Regions from separate parts of the Homo sapiens genome. Here region 2 is linked to region 1. The links are contacts of gene promoters, found by promoter capture Hi-C in blood cells and fetal thymus (Javierre and others, 2016). All regions are on one chromosome and are shown on one strand. The core of a region is centred on a gene start or on the middle of the fragment in contact, and the rest is flanking DNA. Distances in the headings are between cores, read along the strand shown.

The links. Contacts are between HindIII fragments. The CHiCAGO score rates a contact against its expected background, and 5 or more counts as called.
Region 2: a contact is called between a fragment that was not itself captured here and the fragment with the promoter of DMRT3 in region 1, in 1 of 17 cell types (monocytes). The highest score is 5.2, in monocytes.

What each region holds. Positions count from the first base shown.
Region 1 is chr9:975,130-978,439 of GRCh38, reverse strand. DMRT3 (doublesex and mab-3 related transcription factor 3) reads right to left here and starts at 1,785. Exons shown (of 2, transcript NM_021240.4): 1 at 985-1,785. The coding sequence starts at 1,438. RefSeq lists enhancers at 1,618-2,117, 2,118-2,619, 3,152-3,310. The HindIII fragment of the contact is 15,659 bases long and covers 1-3,310 here.
Region 2 is chr9:875,966-879,275 of GRCh38, reverse strand. All of the region lies in intron 2 of DMRT1 (doublesex and mab-3 related transcription factor 1), which reads right to left. Among named protein-coding and RNA genes, the nearest start is that of DMRT1, 36 kb to the right of the region's middle. The HindIII fragment of the contact is 741 bases long and covers 1,310-2,050 here.

The sequences.
Region 1 (3,310 bases), core at 536-3,035:
TGTGTTCCTTTGCACATTTGCCCCAGTTAAGGAGAAACACCAAACACATATCCACTGAATTCCAAGAGCCATCAAAAGAGCTCTTGAGCTGGGCAGAACCGCAAGCTAGAAATTCCCCAGGAAGAGAGAGACTAAGAGACTCAACTCAGGCCTGCCAAGCTCAGGAGGCCTGGATGGAAACGGATGGGTGGTGGGGGATCAGATTTTTTGTATTCCTTTAAACCACGAAGACAGCTGAGGGCAGCCTGGGGAACAGTGTTAAAGGATCTAGGAGGTTCTGCAAAGGAGTGAATTCTGGGCGCATCAGATTCTTTTCCCGCTATCAGCTCACAAGCCTTTCCGGACCCTTTTACTATCATTGCTAAATGGAACTTATTTCACCAGTTACAAGAGTCTGGAGGCCACGGAGCAAAGCTAGAAAGGCCAGGGTTCTGAGAGTTGGATACTTGTCCTCACTCAAATTTTCCTGGGCCCTGGGCAGGGCCGGGCCGGCCGAGAAGCACAGCCAGCTCGACTCAGCCGAGTGTTGGCCTTGGCTCCTTCCCTACACCTACCTACCCATTCCAACCCCCAAATGGCAAGGACCTCTAAAGCCTGCAGCCAGGAAAATCCGACCCCACCGTAGTGAGTGTGCGCACGTGGGTTTTAATTTTGTCCTGTCTCAACTCCGTTGTCTCCCTGCTCAATCTGACACGTTCCGAACCCTTCAACCTGGGAAGGCACCTGGCGATACTGACGCACAGTCCCGTCGTTTGGCTGCCCGGAGGCGCCTTCCCTGCGGGCGCGAGTGCCACTCGCGCTGGGTCCAGACTCAGCCGGCTTCTCCCGGGAGAGGAAGCCCCGGCCTGGCGGAGAGTAGGAAGGAAAGCCCCGACAGGCCCACGTCCCAAAACTTTGCCTCCAGTCCTCCCAAGTGGAGCTGCAGCTGGCACTCCGAAGTTGCCCCCGCGCCCGGCCAAACTCCCGCACCTCAGACGCTCTTACCTGGCTTGGCGAGCTGCGCCTGCAGAGCCCCGGGCTGCGGCTCGGCAGTCCAACGCAGCGCGGCGGCCGCGGCCAACTCGGCAGCAGGGCGCGGCGGCTGCGGCTGCGACGGCTGAGAGGCTGGCGGCGGCTGCGGGGCGGCGACGGCGTCCCCCGGCGGCGGGGGCCCTGGCAGAGCGCGCAGCGAGTCGGGGATGAGGCTCTCCAAGCTCTCGTTGGCCTGCTGCCGGCGCAGCGCCACCTGCGCAGCCATGACCCGCTGCCGCTCGATGATGAGGATGCACTTCTCGCAGGTGCAGTCCTTGAAGCGGCAGTAACGCTTGTGGCCCTTGAGCCAGGACAGGACGCCATGGTTGCGGCAGCGCGCGCACTTGGGCGTGCGCTGCAGGGGCGCCCGTGGCGGCTGCGACACCGGGCCGCCCATGTACAGGTAGGGGGAGCCGTAGCCGTTCATGCCCCGGGCTCCCGAATGAGTTGGCAGCCTGGCTGCGGGAGAGGGCCAGGGAGCGCTGGACGGCGGGGCTGCGAGGCCCGCTCAGGGGCGGCCTCCGGGCGACGCGGCCCTTGGTCCCGCAGCCCCGGTGGTCGTGTGTGCTCCGGGGCGGCCGGAGGTGCCGCAGTCGTCTCTCCAGCTCCCTTCGCGCTCACAGCTCGGCCTCCCAGCTCACGCCCAGCCAACGCCGACGCGGGCCTCTGCCTTGGGCGCGCAGCCGGGTCGGCACGTCCTCCTTCGCGGAGGCGCTGCGGCGGCTGCAAGGAGCCGGCGACAGCTCTGATTAAGGTCTGAGCCAGCTCTTCTGCAGCTCCCTCGTGAGCCGGCCGGACCCAACACCTCCGCCGCCCTCCCCCAACCCCTCCTCCTTCCCACCGCCACCCCCGCCCCTGGGGTCCCTGTCTCCTTGCACTCCCCGCCCCACGCCTTCCTCCTCCTTTGCGCCCCTCGGGTGCCTGCACTTCACCTTCCTTGCCACCTGCAGCCAGGCCACTCTCGCGGGGGCGCTCGCGGCCCCCTCCTCCAAGCCCTCTCCGCTACCCCAGCCCGCGGCTGGAGACTGCGGCGCTCCAGAACGCGGCGGTGCTCGCGGGGCGGAGAAGGGGAGGACCAGCGGGAGTGAGGGTGGGGGTGCCTGTAAGCGAGTGAGGTGGCCGCTCCGCTTCTCTCTCTTCTCCTCCCTCCAGTCCAGATCTGGCCGCGTTTTTCCGAGCCCAAGGCCGCTTTTATCCCGACATTTGGCCGCAGAAGCTCAGCTCCGGGAGAACTCGAACCTACGGGAGTGTTGCGGTTGCACCCCGGACCTGGGTGGAGTTTAGGATAGGGGAGTGAAGTGATGTTGGTTTAGGAAAGTTAGGCTCTTTTCGTAATTTCCTTTTAGAACGTATTTTTTTCTCTTTTGTTGCTTTAGAAGAAAATGGTTTTGGAGATCTGCCGGCCCAAGGATGACAAGCCATTTTGCAGGCGAATTTTACTTTTCTACCCTCCTGTCCATGTTTTAATATAAAACAGTATCCTGAAAGGTCAGGGACGTACGTGCTCCTGTAAAGGATTTGTTAAGCGCCGGGTATAAACTTTCAAGGGGCAGACACAGAAGCCACATTGGCGCCCCCAAAGTTACCGATATCCTCTTCCCTCGCTCCCAGCAGCTACTGGAAGCAAACGGAGGTCTTGCGCCAGCCACTCAGTTCAAATCCCCACGGATTCTGTGATTCAGTTATGGATATGGGATGGGGCCACTTTTTCACCTCCTTAACCCATAGACCCCAGTCATAGATGTCTTGGGGGAGAGGGTCCTTCACAAGATGACAGCAGAAAACTTTGTTTAGATTATTTGCGTGTTCCCATTCTCCCAGGAGTAGCGGGCTTGGCCTAGTGCAGACTATCGCTATATATGCACAAAGAAGGCCCTCCACCCTCGCACCTCCCCACTGCCCATCAGCAAACAAGCAAAAACCAAAAAACAAACAAACAAACAAAACAAGTGGATACACTGCAGGGCAGCACAATAGCTCTATGCGAAGCGGGGCAGTTCCAGAGCCTTCGGTGGATGCGCTTCTGAGAGCGTGCACCAAGCCCATCTCCTGGTGGGGAATCAAATGCTAGATGAGAGCGTAGGCAAGTCCGCTGCAATGTCCGACCCCTCATGGGCACAGAGGCCCTTGTCCCCTCGGGGAGGCCGCTTTTCTCTGTACTGCCCTGGAAGTAAGCAAGCAACCTGAAAACTTTCCTCTGGTGTTTGCCATGAATTCAAGGGAAGCACCTCCAGGCGTTCTAGCAGCCAACCCTCTGCCCAGAAGGCTGATTTGCGGAGAGGAGGGTTGAAAACCGAAC
Region 2 (3,310 bases), core at 431-2,930, 99 kb after region 1:
GTATGGTATCGATAGATATAACCCACATAAATAAAAGCTCTTGAGGTCCTCAATACTTTTTAAGGTTGTAGAGAGATTCTGCAAGTAAAAAGTTTGAGAACTTCCATCTTAACAGCCCCTGTCTTTTTAGGGGGACTGATTTGAGAGAATTAGAGCCTGGCATCTTATTCTGAGCTGGCTCTCAGGGTTGTGTTATTAGTAGACAGCAATAAAGTCCTAACCAGGCAGCTCTGGCTTTATCCTTATGTCTGAAATATTTCTTTCCATGAAACAGGCATTAAGAATGACACAATATGGCCAGGCAGCACAACTTCAGGTTGAGAGCACTGGTCCCAAGCAAAAGTAATTGATCGGATCTGAAATCTAATGCCATGCAATCATGGGGCAAGTTATATACGTTTTGCATGTCCCAGCCTTTGCACGTAGCAAAGAAATACTACTACTACTTGAGAATTATATGAGAGAAGACATGTACTTAGAAAGGCTCTGCCACGTGTTGAGTGCTCAATAAATGTTAGCTATTATTGTTATCACAATCACAACACGGCCATAACGTTTTCTGCCATCAAGCAAGAGAGCCACCAAATAACTCCGCACAAAGTTATCCTTGCTCCAAATCCTCATCATTAGGGTACTGCAGGAGGGCTGGGCTGCACCTGGCCAGGCTTCCCAAGCTCAGCTGAACTTGGAATCTTCCACTCCTGGCCTTCTCTGAGGTCAGACAGTAGCCTTGAGTGCGTTTGGTGTGATATTACTCCCTAAAGTCATAATCAGGAAATGCGGGAACAATGTGTTTCTCCCACAAGGCAATCATGACAGGGCTATTTTAAACGTCAAACACAAACCTGGCGCCAGGAAAGCAACAACTGCTTACTGTGCACCTCCTGCAAGCCACCACCTCTACTTAGTGAGGCAAATGCAACCCAGTGGAGTAGAGTGCACCATTCCTTCCCTTTTCCAAAGTCTGTCTCCCACAGTCCCATCTCCTCCTTTATTCGACTCTGCTTTTGAGAAGTGCAGCCACTCCTGTGATTACCTTAAGACAGGCAGACATTTTTATTGGGTGGGGGGGGGGCAGCAGCTGCAGTTCCAGGGCTGAACTTTTAGCTTGCTATAAAGTTAATGTGCTATTCAATGTTCATTCCAGGCAAGGCTGTGGGGCTGTGTATTTTCTGCCACCCCCGGAAGGCCATTATCTGTAATTGCCCATTACCATGCATAATTATTTCTCCTAGCGTGGTCTATGACCTCCAGGGTTGCTGGATGTTTTAGCAACCTGCTCCACCTAACCAAATTTGTGAAGGAAGCTTTTCTGACCTCCAGTACTTTAATGGTATATTCCAAAGCCAACCATGGGTCATTGTACAGGCACACTTATCCAGAATCAGGAATATTTCAGATCTCTTCCAGGTGTACTTTTCTCACCTCCATGGACTTTTACCTTCCCTAAAATAAAGGAAAAATAATCAACTCTCCATTGTGTGGGAGCTGATAACCCAAACTGGGAATTATCTGGAGCCCTTTATACTCCCTTTGCTTTGATTCTGCTGTTTAATTGTATCGTGCTTTTTAAAGACTGCTACTGGGAAAGTGAACAGAGACACAGAGAAACTTTACATCTTAAATTCAATATATACAATTCCATATTTAGCTTCTTTTTTTGGAATGGGAGGAGGAGTTCTGTTCAAATTAGTGACTGAAATGAGATGTGCAGATTCCCTATGGATTCAAAATATTAATGCTAGAATTGACATCTAGTGCTACATCAAAAAGTGCAGCTTTACATTTAGCTTGCTTTTCAACATAAATAGCAGGGAAAGAAAAGGTGCAAACAGGGTTGCTGGCCATACATGTGCCCACCAAATGCTTAGCCACTTGCTGGCATTTCTTTGTCTCCTCTACCATCGCCTCCTTCAGAACCCTTACTGCACCCTCCAGGGGGGTGAGACATACCTCTAAGGTATTACACGGTTCAAAACCTGTTCAGCAGAGTGTATGTATATCCTGGGAACGAGACCACTCAATTTTTTTATTCCTTTGGAATAAAGCTTCTTTGACATTAAAAGAAGGTGATTCTACAAATAAAAATTCATCCATTCTTTCAACCATCATTTTTACCAAAGTCAGGGAAGGTGAACCACAGAGAATTAAATCCAATAGCCTTTCACAGAATGTGACCACAGAGAAGTCCTTGGAGGTAATTTCATCCCTTGTTTCTACACCCAGAGAGGTTCAAGTGGCAAGTCTGAGGACACACATGTAACTGGAAGTGGGACCATGGCTGAGGCAGCCTCTTCTGAGCAAGTCTGAGGACACACATGTAACTGGAAGTGGGACCATGGCTGAGGCAGCCTCTTCTGAGACCTCACACTTGTCTACCATGCCGTGTCAGAAGGGGAAAAGGGAGCCGTGGAGTCTGGCTGATAGACATTCTCAGACACCTGTTACCTGGGCACAGTGGTCATGCCTGTAATCTCAGCACTTCAAGAGGCCAAGGCGGGAGGATTGCTTGAGGTCAGAAGTTCCAGACCAACCTGAGCAACATGGCGAGACCCCATCTCTACAAAACATTTTAAAATAGCTGGGCATAGTGGCACGAGCCTATAGACCCAGCTACTCAGGAGGCTGAGTGGGGAAGGATCACTTGAGCTCAGGAGGTGGGGGTTGTAGTCAGCTATGATTTCACCACTGCACTCCAGACTGGATGATAGGGCAAGACTCTGTCTCAATAGATTAAAAAAAAAAAAGCCTATTGACGAGGAGTCAACCTAGCAGTTTCCTGGAAAAGAATATAAATGACTACTAACTTTAAGCACTCACATGGGAGTGTGTCAAGCAAAGAGGTCAAGTTCTTAAGCTCCAAAGACAGACTGTGATGGTCTAGGCCTTTTCCCCTTTTCAGCAGGGAATGTCAGGTAAGGCAGTGGCTGAGAGTCATGATTTGGCCCCAGGTCACTTCCCACTGGCCCAAAGCCCCTGACTTGTGGCTCTTCTACCTTATCCTGGAAGCAGCTCCCTCTAAATTCTGGCTTCTTGTTCAGCTCTGTACTTGGAAACTGCAGCCTCACTGCCAGCTGCTGCTAACCTAACTATGTTGTGCTGTTCTCAAAGGATATACACAAGCTACTCGGAACCAGGTAAGAAGACCTGTCACCCAGCTCTCAATTGTGTCCCTAGGGCTAACTGCTCCACCAAATCTACCACTAACCACAGGGATAAAAGGGTGCAGCAAAGCATGCCATACTGTGTCAACTCCAGCATCCCCAGTGTAGGGGCGGGAACTCGAGTTCCCAGCCAGGCAGGTGACACA